Regions from separate parts of the Homo sapiens genome. Here regions 2 and 3 are each linked to region 1. Evidence: promoter capture Hi-C in 16 types of primary human blood cells and fetal thymus (Javierre and others, 2016). All regions are on one chromosome and are shown on one strand. Each heading gives the region's core, a stretch centred on a gene start or on the middle of the fragment in contact. The rest is flanking DNA. Distances are from core to core; before and after follow the strand shown. Region 1 holds the start of KCTD21 (potassium channel tetramerization domain containing 21). Region 2 overlaps GAB2 (GRB2 associated binding protein 2). Region 3 overlaps GAB2 (GRB2 associated binding protein 2).

Evidence for each region. Contacts are between HindIII fragments. The CHiCAGO score rates a contact against its expected background, and 5 or more counts as called.
Region 2: a contact is called between a fragment that was not itself captured here and the fragment with the promoter of KCTD21 in region 1, in 15 of 17 cell types (activated CD4 T cells, fetal thymus, non-activated CD4 T cells and 12 more). The highest score is 10.5, in activated CD4 T cells.
Region 3: a contact is called between a fragment that was not itself captured here and the fragment with the promoter of KCTD21 in region 1, in 7 of 17 cell types (non-activated CD4 T cells, naive CD4 T cells, activated CD4 T cells and 4 more). The highest score is 7.6, in non-activated CD4 T cells.

What each region holds. Positions count from the first base shown.
Region 1 is chr11:78,187,058-78,190,023 of GRCh38, reverse strand. It overlaps KCTD21 (potassium channel tetramerization domain containing 21), which reads left to right and starts at 1,398. Exons shown (of 2, transcript NM_001029859.3): 1 at 1,398-1,451. USP35 (ubiquitin specific peptidase 35) reads right to left here and starts at 1,105. Exons shown (of 11, transcript NM_020798.4): 1 at 867-1,105. RefSeq lists silencers at 752-911, 1,342-1,681. The HindIII fragment of the contact is 4,363 bases long and covers 369-2,966 here.
Region 2 is chr11:78,347,847-78,350,812 of GRCh38, reverse strand. All of the region lies in intron 1 of GAB2 (GRB2 associated binding protein 2), which reads left to right. Among named protein-coding and RNA genes, the nearest start is that of GAB2, 68 kb to the left of the region's middle. The HindIII fragment of the contact is 3,231 bases long and covers 1-2,966 here.
Region 3 is chr11:78,330,606-78,333,571 of GRCh38, reverse strand. All of the region lies in intron 1 of GAB2 (GRB2 associated binding protein 2), which reads left to right. Among named protein-coding and RNA genes, the nearest start is that of GAB2, 86 kb to the left of the region's middle. RefSeq lists an enhancer at 1,000-1,049. The HindIII fragment of the contact is 715 bases long and covers 1,187-1,901 here.

The DNA.
Region 1 (2,966 bases), core at 149-2,648:
TTCCTTGGGGGTACCAGGCTGCCCCTCCCGACACCAGGTGGTGCCCTCCATCTCTGGCCCCTCAGGTGTCTGAATGGCAGCATCTCTCTAGGTATTTTTTAACTGAACTTCTACCCAAGGCAACCCTGGGAAGAAGTGCTTCACCCTACTCCGGGAGGCCCATGTCTGGGCCACCAAACTGTCTCCTGGAAAGAAAAAGAAAAAAGGGTTTCACTGGTAAAAAGCAGCTGCTCTTCCTCAAAGGATAAGGAGGAGAGAGAAGGGAAGAAAGCAGGAGCAGCTATTCCTCCTCAGGAACCCACCACACACACCTATCCCTGCGGGGCCACCCCTCACAAACCTGTGAGGGCCGCACTCCACCCCAAGCTTTCTGGAAGGAAGGGCACCAAGCTGACACATCAGGGTCTCCGGTTTGCAAGGGCCAGGGCCGTAAGAGGGGGTTGGGGAGGGTATCCCAGGGCCCAGCACACTGAGAATAGGAAAAGCCCATTCCAAGCAATGGTGGCCTCGGGCCCCCCAGTTTGTGCCACCTCCCTCCCTCCAGTGCACCCGCGCCCAGCCCACGCTTGAGCTGGAGGGCCCCACGAAAAGCCAGCAAGCGAATGTACTAGGTACTGGGTGCGAATGCCCTCTTACCTGAAAGGGGAGGGAGCAGGATCACTTCGACATACAATTGATGAAGGGAGGGGATTAATGCCCAGAGAGGAATAGCTACTCGCCCAAGGTCACACAGTGAGGCCCAGGAGGCCCAGGATGCACCCAGATCTCCCGACTCCCAGCCCTGGGCTCGCAAGTCCAGGGTTCTCGAAAGGCCAGGGTGCAGACACCGCCCCCCAAAGACAGTCACACGCCCCCAACCCCCTTACCTCCCGGACCCCGGTGGGCCAGAGCCGGCTGCTGGGCGGGGCGCTCAGGCCGGGCAGGACGAGGCTGGGCCCGGCTAGGTCAGGGCTGGTCCTCTGCTCCCCCCAGGGTGGGGACGCCCTCAGCCAGGTCCCAGACGGAAGAGATGCTGCTTCCACTGCAAAATCCAGTCTTCCCACCCCGCCTGGCACAAGCCTCTATGTATCCAGGAAGCCCGACTCTGCGGCGCGGCCCCGGGGCTGCGGGATGAAGCATGGGGAGGGGCGAGGTGCGTGAAATGGGGCGGAGCCGGAGCGGGGGCCACCCCGCGAGCTGCCACTCTGACCGCGTCCCCTTTAAGGCCAGCCGGCCGGACACCGGCGGGGACGAGGCGGGGCGCAGAGCAACTCGCTGCAATGCCTCCTGGGAGATGGAGTTCGCTCTCGACGCGCCGAGCTGCGAGGAGCCCAGAGAGAACTACCAGTCCCGGAAGGCAGCGCACAGACCCCGGACCGCCACGCCCCTGGGCTGGGCTCCTACCCTCCGCCCCCCTCGCAAAGCTGCGCTGGCCGCTCGCGGAGGGAGAGGCTGCAGAGCGAGGGCAGGAGGTGGGTGCGGCACGGCCGGGGTCGCGGGGCTCGGGGACTACCGGCGAGGGTACGTGGGCCCACTGAGCACCTGTCTTACCATGAGACTAATCTATCCCAGCCTCGCCATTCCCATCTGTGAAATGGGGATGGCATCGCCTGTGGTGCGGGGGAGGGGGCGCGTTTCGGAGCGAGGTGAGCCGAAGTGGGCAGAGCTCTTAGAGGGGCGGGGCTGTTGGGAGAGCAAGGGCGGATGGTGATAGTCGGAAAAGCCCGGATAATGAGGGTCGGGACTGTGGGAGGAGTCCTTGGTGGGTGGGGCAAGGAGAGGCGGGATCTCTAGGTGGGGGTGGGGCACTTGTCAGGTCGGAGTGGGGGCTGTAGGGCTGGGGAGTGGGTGCGGAACAAGCCGATGAGGCCAGCCTGGGTGAGATTGGGGAAGGAAGGGCGGAGACACAGATGACAGGGAACTTGCCCCGCTCTGGAGAGCCCTGGGCCGGCCGCGCTGTGGCGGCGTGGGCAAAAGCCTGTGATGCATAGAACACCTCCCTTTACTGACTGGAAATAAAGAGTCCATCCCCGAGTTCAGTGCGGCACACCAGTGATCTCATTGACCTCCCACGCCCTGAAAAGTAGAGGCGTCACTATAGCGGTTGACAGGTGAGGAATGTGAGGCTCAGAAAAGCGAAGGGACTTGCCTAAAACCACTCAGGACTCCTTACTTCAAAGACCTTGCTTTTCTCCCTGCACTCGGGGAGGCAGAGGTTTAGCTTGGCGTGGGAGGCAGGAAAGAAAAGTTTTGATGCCCCGACCTTCGCAAATTGTCTGGCAGGACCAGTCCCCCCAACCCTTCCGAATGACAGCCTGTAAGGCAGCCCTCCTATAGTACTGTGAGGATGAAATGAGATGGATTTGAAAGCACGGTGTTTATAAATTACTGTTTGGAGGAGACATAGGAAGAGAGCGGTTTGAAATGGGGTGCTGGTGCCGGAGGAAAAGCACAAGGTGAAGCGTGAGAGTGAGCCGAGAAGGTGAAGGAAAGTTCTGGAAGGGGCTGGGGGATGGTAGTGGTTGTTGGAGGTCTACGCCAGATGAAAGAATACCTTGCCGTGCCAGATTCCGTGGTCTCCTTCTTCCAGCCCACCTTTCTCTCCTCCTGCCTTTTGCGCAGCTCATTCTGGGGTCCCTGTGTCTAGGAAGCACCTTTTCTCTCCTCCCTATGGGTTGTGATGGTAATAGAGCAGCCTTCGGATTTCTTAGAGATATGGACTGGGCAAGACAGAATTATAGACGCAGCTCTTTGATGTGGGGTGGTCAGGAAGAGGAGGTGAAGAAAGGGTAGTCGTCCTAGGGGCTTCAAGGCAAAGAGTCCTTTCTCCGGTGGGGTAAGGTGGGGAAGTCTCCCACTTACTGGAAAACACAGTACTCACTCTGAGCATTGTCTTTTTTGAAATTTACCCAGCCACGTGCTGTCCATTCCCTTACGCAGTGGAAACTCTCCTTGCATTTACTCCCAAGTAATCACCTCGGCCTTGT
Region 2 (2,966 bases), core at 170-2,669, 160 kb before region 1:
CACAAAAGCACATGTTCCTGTGGTGAATTCTTAACGTGTGTGAAGGGGAAGCAAAGGAGCTTTAGTAAAATTGCAGTTCAGGCTAAGTCAGGAATGGAAATGAGGAACAACCAGAAAACATCACAGTTTGTTTTAGAGCATTTAGTTCCTAACTCTCAATGACACACACTCAGGCTTATGGCTGAATTTCAGATTATCCTTGTATATACTTTTTAGAAGTTTTTATTTGGTATCATAATTTATAGTGTAACAATGAAAAGTCGCCTGGCTTTATAACAGATTTCAGAAAGTGAAACTTGGTTTCTGAGGAATAAACAGGCAGCAGAGCAATCCTCAAAGAGGAAGTGCATGAGAAACTGAGGGTTTAGGGAGATTATATTTGGTTAGAAACGCTGGGCCTTTGTTAAAAGTTGAAAAACCTGATCACTCCAGTCTTTGGAGGTTCTGAGGGAGAGCATGTCTTGCCAGAGTCTCACGGATGATTAGAGTTAATCCCGGCACCCAGGCCTCTTTACTTTTCCTCTGCAGTGTGGGTTCCCCTCCTGAGCTACCCGCTAGAGCCTAGTTTCCCAGGGTTTCTCTCTCTGGTCTGTTTTTGCAGCTCAAGCCATGTTCTCCTTGATCTGTTGGCCAGGCTTCAGGGGAGATGGACTACAGCTGGTCTGAAATAGGAAGACGGTAAATTTACTTAAACTTTCAGCATGACCCATTTGCCTAACTTTTTTTTCAATGTGATGAATGAAAATATAGACAACAGAATGTTTCACAAGACAGCCAACTCAAAGAGAATAAGAATGAGGACGTGTGCAATTTGCTTTTACCTTTAAAAAGAAGCATATTACAGAACCTCTTGATTGTCTTTCTTTTTTTTTTCTTTTTTTCTTTTTTTTACCTCTGTCATCTGTGATCCATTCGCCTGTTCAGCCAAGATATTTTGGCATTTTTACTCTGGGAAACCAGTGGGTGGGTGAACATGGAGGAGCCAAAAGTTAACAAAATACCAGCAAATGCTGGAGCCAAGTGAGAGGATTCTCCTCTGCTCCAGAAGCAGAGGTGTACCCCACCTCCCACTCTCCCAAGCTGCTTTGAAAAAGGCTGCTAAAACTCACCGACTTAAAAAAAATTTTTTAAAAGAAAAAAAACTCCCTGACTTGAGAGGATTTCTCAGTCCTGATGAAGGAAATCTCTAGCAGCTCTTCTTGTCCCTAGGCTATCAGGGCTTTTCCTTTCTGAGGATGCCCTAAGCACTGTAGGGAATAATAGCATTCGAAGGTAAGTTTATCTGGTCTGATGCCAGCATACATTGTTGAATCCAAATCTACCATTTACCATCGGGGTGACTTTCAATGAGTTCTTTAAACTTTCTGAGCCTGTTGTCTCATCTGTAATAGAGATAATAGTGCCTACCTCATCAAAAGTGTTAGAATTAAGTAAGATGATTTGTAACTTAGTACCAGACACCTCATTAATAATCAAATGTTTTTTGCAATACCACTCATTTTCTCACCAACTTCTATACAGCTTCCTGTTTTCCCAGTGATCGTGAGATATGGGAGGTAGTAGCTTGCTAACTTGTTTCCAGTGGCAGCAGGAGTGGCAAAGGAAATTACTTTTTTCCTTATCAACTTCAAAGGATAATTTACACACAGTGAACTATATCTGTGTACATTTAATGAGTCTCATAGGTGTCTGTCCGTACTCATGAAACAAGTACTACATTGAAGATGTAGAACATTGGCATCATCCCCAAAAGATTCCTCTTGCCCCTTTGCAGTCTTTCCCTTCCTTTGCCCTTAGCCCCAGGCAAGCACTCCTCTGTTCTTTGTCACTCTAAATTAGTTTGCATTTTATAGGAGTACAGTATGTACACTTTTTGTGCAGCTTATTTCACTCAGCATAGTGATTTCTGGATGTGTCCATGTTGTTGCATGTATCCATGTTATTGCTGAGTAGTATTCCATTGTGTGGATATACCACCTATTGATGGACATTGGGTTCTTTCTTGTTTCTGGCTCTTTTAAATAAAGCTGATATGAACATTCACTTGGAAATCTTTCTGTGGAGCATACATTTTCATTTCTCCCAGGTATACCCAGCAGTTGAATGGCTCAGTCATATGGTAGATACGTGTTAAACTTTTTGAGAAACTTCCAAACTGTATTGTTTTACTTTCCTATCAACAGTGTATGTGATTTCCAGTTGCTTTACAATCTCAGAAGCACTTAGTGTGATCAGCCTTTTTAATTTTAGTCATTCTAATGGGTTTATAGGTCATGGTATTCATTGTGGTTTTCATTTGTTTCCCTGATGTCTAGTGATGTTGAGCACCATGTGCCAACTGGCATTTTGTATACTATCTTCTTTTGTCTAGTATCTGTTCAAATCTTTTGCCCATTTAAAAAATTGTGTCATTTATCTTCTTACTGAGTTGTACAAGTTCCTTTTATGATCTGGATACCAGTTCTTTGTAAGATAGAAATATATTAAACATTTCCTTCAATCTGTGAAAACATGTGAATACAACTGATCCTTGAACAAAATGGGCTTGAACTGCATGGGTCCATTTATACTTGGATTCTTTTCAGTAAAAGTGACACTGAGTGTGCTTGCCTCTCCTGCCTCCCCTTCCTCCCCTTCTACCTCTTCTGCTTCTGTCACTGCTGAGACAGCAAGTCTAACCTCTTCTTTTCCTCTTTCTCCTCAGCCTACTCAATGTCAAGATGAAGATAAAGACCTTTATGATGATCCACTTCCACTTAATCAATACTAAATACATTTTAATCTTCCTTATGATTTTTTTCTCTATCTTTACTGTAAAAATGCAATATATAATATATAACATACTAAGTATGTGTTATTCCACTGTTTATAGTAGTTAAGTTTCAGGGGAGTCAAAAGTTGTACATGGATTTTTGACTGCATGGGAGGGAGCCATCCCCTAACCCCCATGTTGTTCAAGGTTCAAC
Region 3 (2,966 bases), core at 295-2,794, 140 kb before region 1:
ACTGGGCAGGGGGTGGTGGCTAACACCTGTAATCCCAGCGCTTTGGGAGGCCAAGATGGAAAGATCTCTTGAGGCCGGGAGTTTGAGACTAGCCTGGGTAACATAGTGAGACCCCCCACCTCTATAAAAATTGTTTAAAAATTAGCTGGGCATGGTGGTGCATTCCTGTAGTCCTAGCTCTCGGGATGCTAAGGCAGGAAGATTGCTTCAGCTCAGGATTCGAGGCTGGAGTGAGCCATGATCGCACCACTGCCCTCCAGCCTGAGTGACAGAGCGAGACTTTTTCTCTAAAAATAAAAAATAAAAAAAGTCACCAAAAGATCTTTGGACTCAAATTATTCATTATAATCCTAGAAGAAGGACTTATCAGTATGTGTATTATTGGAAGATGGTTAGTGATAAGATTTTCCTTTGTAATTGGAGCCCAGTATTTCCGGGTGAAGACTGTAAAGCACTGGATCAAGAGTATACTGATGGTACCACATGTCCCAGGCAGGCTCTGAAACAAAGCCCAGCATTATCCTCCTCCTTCTGTCATTTGAAGGACCATCTTTCCCATTAAATTATAAGAGATTCTTGATCTGCTATAGGGGATACACCAGTGTTGGGGCTCAATAAATATTTGGCAAAATTAGGCTCTGCAGGTATAAGACAAGGCAAAGGGGAAGGTTCTTAAAAAAACAAAAACTATATCTTCAAATTTCTGCTCAGACTCTAGGGCATGAGGGAACTCCATGTGCCTGCTTCTTCCTCTAAGCACCTAGAAAGGTTCTTTCTCAAAGTCAATAAACAACACTTCTTAATAGTTACTTTTTGGTCTCCTAAATGTTACTTTTTAGTTTCCCTACTGTTCAAGCCAGAGCTATGATTTGTCATTACTCACATATGCCTTCAAGTGCAGATAAATTTCCTGCATGCCATTGCTACCTCTTGCTGCATCCCATTAGACTCTTACTTAAGTTGTGAGGTTTATTTTTTGATAACCAAAATTCACTTAAACATAGGATGTCATTTGTACTACTGATCCGTTTCTCTCATCATTTGAGTCAGGATATGTGTGTAGGACACTGGGGCTTTTACCTTCTTTTTGTGCTATCATAGCTTATATGAATAGAAAGCTCAGACACAGTGAGGACTTGATCAATATTGAAAGGAAATTTAAATCATACCAGGTACCCTATAAGCTTCTCCCCCAGGCAAATAAAGCCAGTGTTAAGTTGATCTCCCTAGGTTGGTGGGCAGGGAAAGTCCCAAGCCTGGTGGCTTCCTCAGTCACTTCTTTAAAAACCAGGGGCCTCACCACTGGTTTCCAATAGCCTGTGTATTTTTAGTCCTGCTTTTCATGTAAGTTTCCCATTAACTGCTTGCAGGAAATCTTTTCTTGGACATAATCTGCCCATTTCCTGAAGTCTTCCTCCCGCCTTGTGTCAGTTTGGGGATGAATCAAGTCAGCAGTTTTGGAGGGGGTTTGTTCTGTTCCCCGCCACAGGCTCCCCACTTTGTAGAGTACCAGAAAGCTGCCTTTCTTGTCTTTTCCTAGAGGCAAAGGGAGGAGGGGCAAGCCCTTGGTGTGTGTCTGCCTCTTGGGTTGCCCAACACAAATGCCCTTTTGTGTGTGGAGGGGGCATGTGTGTTTTTTTTCCCCTTCCCAATGGACACTTTCATTTACGAGGTCCGGATGGTGTCCTCTGGGCTATAAACAATGGCATAGGAGATAAAGAGCTGCCTTAGTGACCAGGCTGTGGTGGCAGCCACTGGTTTTCCATCTGTGTCTCTGTTTTCCAATCCCCTTGGTCTATTGTGAGTTTGGTCTGATCTGAGCCAGCCTGGGACCTCTGTAATCCCTTTCTAGGCCCAGAGCAGCGTGGGCACTATTCCTCTTATCCTGAGGACTTCAAGCTTAGAGAAAGAGGTTTTCTGTGGTAAGGATAGCAACTCCTCATGTTTGCACAATGTGTTTAAACACATTATATCTTTTGGAGAACTGAAATTCTGGATTTGTTATCCCTTAAGAATGGAGGATTCGGGGCTGGGCGCAGTGGCTCACGCCTGTAATCCCAGCACTTTGGGAGGCCAAGGCAGGCAGATCAGGAGGTCAGAAGATCGAGACCCTCCTGGCCAACATGGTAAAACCCCGTCTCTACTAAAAATACAAAAAATTAGCTGGGTGTGGTGGTGCATAACTGTAGTCCCAGCTACTGGGGAGGCTGAGGCAGGGGAATCGCTTGAACCTGGGAGGCAGAGATTGCAGTGAGCCGAGATTGTGCCACTGCACTCCAGCCTGGCAACAGAGCGAGACTCCATCTCAAAAAAAAAAAAAAAAGAATGGAGAATTTGGATCAAAAGAGTTGGAGTGCTGGTCCTGCTATTTATTTATTTTATTTTTATTTATTTTTTGAGACGGTGTCTGTCTCTGTCACCCAGGCTGGAGTGCAGTGGCGCGATTTCGGCTGACTGCAACCTCCACCTCCCGGGTTCATGCAATTGTCCCGCCTCAGCCTCCCGAGTAGCTGGGATTACAGGTGCCCACCACCATGCCCTGGTAATTTTTGTATTTTTTAGAAGAGACAGGGTTTTACCATGTTGGCCAGTCTGGTCTCGAACTCCTGACCTCAAATGATCTGCCCACCTCAGCCTCCCAAAGTGCTGGGGTTACAGCCATGAGCCATTGCACCTAGCCTGGTTCTACTATTAATAACTGTGAGATCTCAGGCAAATTCTAGAACTAATACCTTTCTACTTCATAGGGTGTTCCACAGTTCCATTAAGAAAATACGTTATGGGAAGAAAAATATTTCCATTAAGAAAATAACATATGGGAAGCACCCAAATGTTAACCAAAAAAGGAGGGGGTGGGAAGAGGAAATGTACAATGAGACAATATAAATGAATACGCTATGCATAAGATGCTAAGTATATAGTCACTATTTGGTTTTAGAGGTCTAAGAGTAAGCCTTTTCTCCAGA